Linked DNA regions of Homo sapiens: region 2 is linked to region 1. The links are contacts of gene promoters, found by promoter capture Hi-C in blood cells and fetal thymus (Javierre and others, 2016). All regions are on one chromosome and are shown on one strand. The core of a region is centred on a gene start or on the middle of the fragment in contact, and the rest is flanking DNA. Distances in the headings are between cores, read along the strand shown. Region 1 holds the start of TRIM44 (tripartite motif containing 44). Region 2 holds the start of CSTF3 (cleavage stimulation factor subunit 3).

What was found. Contacts are between HindIII fragments. The CHiCAGO score rates a contact against its expected background, and 5 or more counts as called.
Region 2: a fragment that was not itself captured here is called in contact with the fragment with the promoter of TRIM44 in region 1 in 1 of 17 cell types (naive B cells); the score reaches 6.0 in naive B cells.

The regions. Positions count from the first base shown.
Region 1 is chr11:35,661,175-35,664,157 of GRCh38, reverse strand. It overlaps TRIM44 (tripartite motif containing 44), which reads right to left and starts at 1,383. Exons shown (of 5, transcript NM_017583.6): 1 at 378-1,383. The coding sequence starts at 1,046. RefSeq lists enhancers at 695-1,195, 1,407-1,726 and a silencer at 987-1,366. The HindIII fragment of the contact is 12,326 bases long and covers 1-2,360 here.
Region 2 is chr11:33,160,419-33,163,300 of GRCh38, reverse strand. CSTF3 (cleavage stimulation factor subunit 3) reads left to right here and starts at 1,821. Exons shown (of 21, transcript NM_001326.3): 1 at 1,821-2,002. The coding sequence starts at 1,976. It overlaps CSTF3-DT (CSTF3 divergent transcript), which reads right to left and starts at 1,644. Exons shown (of 4, transcript NR_034027.1): 1 at 1,520-1,644. RefSeq lists enhancers at 1,437-1,856, 2,592-2,882. The HindIII fragment of the contact is 203 bases long and covers 1,359-1,561 here.

The sequences.
Region 1 (2,983 bases), core at 134-2,633:
AGGCAAAAAGATTGCCTTATCAAGAGCCCTAGCACAAAGCACCAGTTTCAACAATAGTGATGCTGTGGAAATTGGCCTAAGTGGGGTCAAAACTCCCAAGAAATGCTTTACCTGGGATCCACAGACCAGAAACTTGCAATTTTCTAGAAATTGTATACTAGATTTTGTGTGTATTTTCTCAGGTCAGAGTCCAGAACTTTCATCAGATTCTCAAAAGAGTTCAACCAAAAACGGTGAATAAGAACTGCTCCCAAAAAGTTGGAAAGACTAGCTTCTTAGGGACACAGTGAAAGCGAATGTGGTCACAGCCAGGCCACCTGAGTTGAAACCCAGGTGTCCTGACCCCTAGGTTTATGCTCTGAAGGCCCAATACTTACTCTTAATTCTTCAAAGGCTTCGTCTAGGGTGGAGAGTTGGTGGCCCTGGTGAGCCCCAATGACTGGACACAGGACACAGATGAGCTGCCTATCTTCCTGGCAATAGGTACTCAAATCAAGCCCATGGTCCGGACACTTCCTCTTGGCCACTCTCTCTGCTTCCATTTCTATTTCTGGGTCAAATTCACTTTCTGCCTCAGTTTCTCCCTCCGCCTCGGATTCCCCTTCTTCTTGGTTGTCTTCTTCGGCCTCGCTTTCTTGCTCATCCTCCATTTCTTCCTCGCTGTCTTCTTCACTCTCCTCATCGCTCTCATCCTCACTCTCTTCCTCTGTCTCGCTCTCTTCCTCTGACTCGCTCTCTTCCTCCGACTCACTCTCTTCCCCTGCCTCGCTTTCTATCTCCCTCTCCTGCTCCACCTTGACCTCCGCTTCTTCCTTCCCCGCCCCCTCTCCGTCAGCTGGCGGGGTCCAGGCCTGGGAGCCGTGGACGTATTCGGCCAGATGGTGACTGAGGAACTTCTGCCTGTGCGCCTCGGCATGGCGGCGGCAGTAGCAGAAGCCGCATTCTCGGCACACTTCCTCGGCCCCCGGAGCCTCGTCGGGCTCGCACTCGTCACACGTGCCGTCGTGAGGCAGTTCCTCGAAGGCCGCGCCCACTCCAGAGGCCATGTGGGTGCTGTGACGCGGCCAAGGCCTCGGGGCCCCGGGGCTCGCCGCCTTCCTTCCGCGCGGCCTCACTTCCTCCTCCCGCCCCGGGTCCCTTCCTAGGGAGTCGCCTCCCGCCTGGACCGCGCCGCGTCTCGAAGCGGGACCTGGGGCCGCGGCAGCCCCTGCCCGGGCGCAGCAGCAAAGACCCTTTCCGCCGGCTCGGCCTGCTCCGCTCTGTCCCTGCGCTTCCTCTGCCGCGCAAGGCACTTCCGGCGCGGCCACCCGGCGCCCCCGTCGGCCCCCGCGTCGCGCCGCCCGCTCAGCCTCCCGCTACCAGGGAGAGATCGCGGCAGCCGCCGGCCCCCGCGCCGCCCCGGTTCCACTTTCCCTTTCCCCGTCAGGAGGCCTCCTTTTACTTCCTGAGTCATTTAAAGTGGCAATGACCCTTTTCTGCTTTTCCCGCGGGGCTCAGCTCCTCCGCTCCAAATCTCAGCGTGCCTTGGAGGAGGAGGAGGGAGAAGGAGGATGGAGGAAGTCTCTTACTCTCTCCAGAAGCAGGAATTGGGCTCCACCTCCCCCATTCCCTCCCTGGAAGTGTCAACTTGAGTTTTCACGGCCACTAGGCTGGTGTCCCTGTGCATTTCAGTCTCTCTTGTGCCAATTTGTCGCCGCCCGTCACAGTCCCCAGTGTTCTGCAAGGTGCCCGGACAGTGTTGTTTACCAGACTGAACCTGACCTCTTGGGATTTCCTGAGTGCGGAAGGGCTATGTTTGTTCTAGGCTAGGGGAATTGGAGTTAGGATGAGCAAACAAATATTTTCGATCCAAAGCAATACTGTGCTTTGTCTATTTGCATTGCTACCTCCTAGGATCTCAGAATTTCTGGGGTGGTAACCTCTGTGCGGTTTTCTGAGAGCTGCCTTCGGTTGGGCAGAGACGTCAGGTGAAGTGAGGTGGGGAGAGGCAGTATTTGTCGAGTGACAGGTCCAGGTTGCAGTCATTTTCCTTTATGTAAGGTGTCCCTCTAGATTCCCACTGGGCTCTAAGAGAAAAGAAGGGAACTGTTGTTTATAAAGCAGTACTGTAGTGCCAAGAACCCGGCTACATCTTTTTGTGGCTCTTTAAAAGCCGGTTTTGGAAGATCCTCTGCCCGATGGTCCCCAAATCCTGGTGCCACTACCTATCAGTTTTATGACCATGGACAAGTTAATTCATCATTCTGTTTTCCGCTTTTTAAAAAAGATGTTAAGTGAAAAGAACGGTAAATATCTACCTCATGGGGTAGTTTTGTGGATTAAATGTAACGATGCCTGCACTGTAGAGTATTCACTAAGCTTTCATTATTATTTTTGGCACAAATTATATTTAGTGCTCACAATGCCCCTTTGAAGGAACATATTTTACACACACAGGGCATTTTCGGCTGGCTGCTGGTAATGTAGGCAAGTCTCCACCTCTACCCCATATCCATGTCTCTCCATTCACAGAAGAGTTTTTGTTTTGCACTGTATTTGGGAGAGGGAAAATTACGTTTTTATCTAGTCAAGGGAGAGGCTGAGGTGTATTAAGAAGGATGAAAGGGGATGGAATGGTGTCTGTTTTACATTGATTCCCTTAGATGATTTTGAGTTAGAATTTCCAGATGCTTTCCTCAAACATACCAGGGGATGAGGTGGGGTAAAAAAACCTTTTTAATAGTTTTTAATGTCTCCATGGATAATGTATGCCTAATCTTTGTGCAGCTTTTGTTAGATATTTATTTTTTAGAAACCTTTCTTTTTAACCTCAGAACAATTCTATACAATGTTGAAAAAAATCAGGTTTATTTTGTTCCAATTCCATACACATTTCTGTTTTCCCCCAGCTCATTTCTCTGGAAATTATTTCTGTGTCTGCTTTTGAAACATGAATTGAAGCACCATTCTGAAAAAAAAAATTCAACAAATGTCAACTCAAACA
Region 2 (2,882 bases), core at 211-2,710, 2.5 Mb after region 1:
CACTGACATGACTCTCAAAGGAAATGCTCATTGGAGTATTTCAGATTTTGGATTTTCAGATTAGGATGCTAAAGTGGTAAGTATATATACGTAAAACACTTTCATATTCTGCTTTTCTTCATTTAATACGGTGGTTGCCTTTCTGTCAGTCATCGTACATTAGCATCAGTTTGCTGTGTGATATTCCATTGCAGAGATAAATCTTGTGATATTTTTAACCAGTCCTCCATTGCTGGATGGTGCAATGAACATCTGTTAATACATATCTTTTGCTCATGTGTCTGATTATTTTAAGGGTAAGATTTCAGCCTGTGGAAAGGGAGTAAGTGTAAGTTTGAGCAGAGGAAAGGAGACCTAAAAGAATAAGGCGAGTCTGGGAACAGTTCACTAGGTTATTTTAGGGCATTGGACCCCCGTAGGCGAGAAATGCTTGCAGACATCTAACGATGACGCTTAAATGGAAGAGCAGTTTGAGAAGATTTAGTATCATTTAATTTTTTATTTTTTATTTTTTTTGAGACGGAGTCTCGCTCTGTAGTCCAGGCTGGAATCTCGGCTCACTGCAACCTCCGCCTCGCGGGTTCAAGCGATTCTCCTGCTTAAGCTTCCCGAGTAACTGGGACTACAGGCGCAAACCACCACGCCCGGCTACTTTTTTTGTATTTTTGGTAGAGACGAGATTTCACCAAGTTGGCCAGGTTGGTCCTGAATTCCTGACTTTATTTATTTATTTTCTGAGACGGAGTCTCGCTCTGCCGCCCAGGCTGGAGTGCAGTGGCGCGATCTCGGCTCACTGCAAGCTCCGCCTCCCAGGTTCACGCCAGTCTCCTGCCTCAGCATCCGGAGTAGCTGGGACTACAGGCGCCCGCCACCACGCCCGGCTAATTTTTTTTTGTGTGTGTGTGTATTTTTAGTAGAGACGGGGTTTTACCGTATTAGCCAGGATGGTCTCATCTCCTGACCTTGTGATCCGCCCGCCTCAGCCTCCCAAAGTGCTGCGATTACAGGCGTGAGCCACCGCACCTGGCCTAGAACTCCTGACTTTAAATGATCCATCCGTTTTGGCCTCCCAAACTGCTGGGATTACAGGCGTGGGCCACCGCGCCCAGTCAATCTCATTTAATCTTAATGCCAGGTACTGTTCTAACACTTTTCTATGTATAATTTATTTCACTTGCAGGTACTATTATTATTCCCATCTATAGGCCAGAAAGCTGAGGTACGAAGTTTAATTACCAGAGTTACTTATCTTCGTTAAAATCCAAGCAGTCTGGGCTACAAACAATTATACCTACTTTGCAGTCAAGGAACCAAGCTGAGATGTTGAGCTGAAAACCCAGGTCTCAGACTTCAAAGCTTTCTACACAAGAGTCGACGGTGGCAGTAAAAATTAATGGGGGCTTGATCTATCCCTCCCACCCCCAAGAAAAGTAAAAAGCAGGAGCTGGGACCAGAGAAAACCTCCACGGAGTCCTTATCCCCTAAATATAAGAGGCATTTAACGTTTAGCATTGCTGACCTGCAATCAGGCTTCAACTGTGAGTAGCCAGGCTCTAAAGCTTGATAACTGAATTCCAAAAAGCGCGCGAGCCTCCAGGCGAAACAGCTTCCCGCCTTCCAGCCGGTTGGAGCCGGCTCAGCAACAGCCTCTCCAAGCCAGGGTAGTGACGTCAGCCCAGGAATTGGGCCCGCCCCGGGATCTCGCTGCTTTCTGCACGCTCGGAATAACCAGAGTCGCGAAATTAGCCCCGCCCACTGCCCCGGAAGTTAATGCGGAAGCCACACACCTCCTCCTCGGCCGGCAGGGGCGCAGCCATTTTAATTCATATTTGAGTGGGCGGTGGCGATTGGTGTTGGCGGTCTGGCTCAGCTGGGCAGGGGGTAACTTTACTGATTTGGGGGTGGTTTTTAGTTTAATTTTTCTTTTCTAGCTTCCCATCGACGGTCAGTGCGCACGTTGTAATCAGCTGAGGCCATGTCAGGAGACGGAGCCACGGAGCAGGTGAGGAAGGAGAGTGGTGGGGCCTCGTGGCGACCTCTTCTCCACGTCTGTTCCTCCGACTGCTCCAGACATGTTCGGCTGAGGAAGGAATTGGGTCTAGTGAACCCGGGGGACAGGGTATATAGAAGAGTGGTGGGAATGGGGAGCAAGATCTAAGATTTAATTTTTTTTTTTTTACTTCTCTCTCTTAGGCATGAATACGAGTAAATACTTGATTTAGACAATAGCGGTAGGCTGCTTCGTCCTATTTAGATTCATGGGACTACTCCAGATGGGATGCTTTCCTTTGATATCGTTTTGGTATTAGAGTGGATAGGAATTATTTTAACGTGCACCCGACGTTTTAGAAAAACTTGACAGTGTTTCTTTTACCCCGCCAAATATACTGTACCCAGAAATAGGTTACTAGTTTGAGAAATATTTGAGACAAAGCTAATCTGGAGAATTAAGACTTAATGAGAGCGAGTGAAGAAAGAAGCAAGTTATGCTGAGGTTTTGGGAATTTTGTGGCTTTCTTTCGTTTTCTTTTCTTTTAGCCACATTTCGTTTTCATTTTTCCAGCTACATAAACATTGCAGGTATAAGTTGAAAATGAGAAGTCTGTTTTGGCCACTGTAAATAAAAGCATCTGTTTTAATAGTAAATATGAGTGACAACTAAATATTTTAAAATTCACACTTTTAGGTTAGATCAGTGTGATTTGTTTCTTTTGCTCTTTGTATTCAGAATTTTGTAGGATAGTATTTACCTTTTAGTGTGAAAGAGGAAGCTAAATAGTTATGAAAAATGCCATTAAATGTGTTTTTCGATCTAAGTCCTGGTGTGTTTAGATAAATACAGTTTCTAAAATGGAGGCTAGGTAGCCTGCAGTCTCAATTTC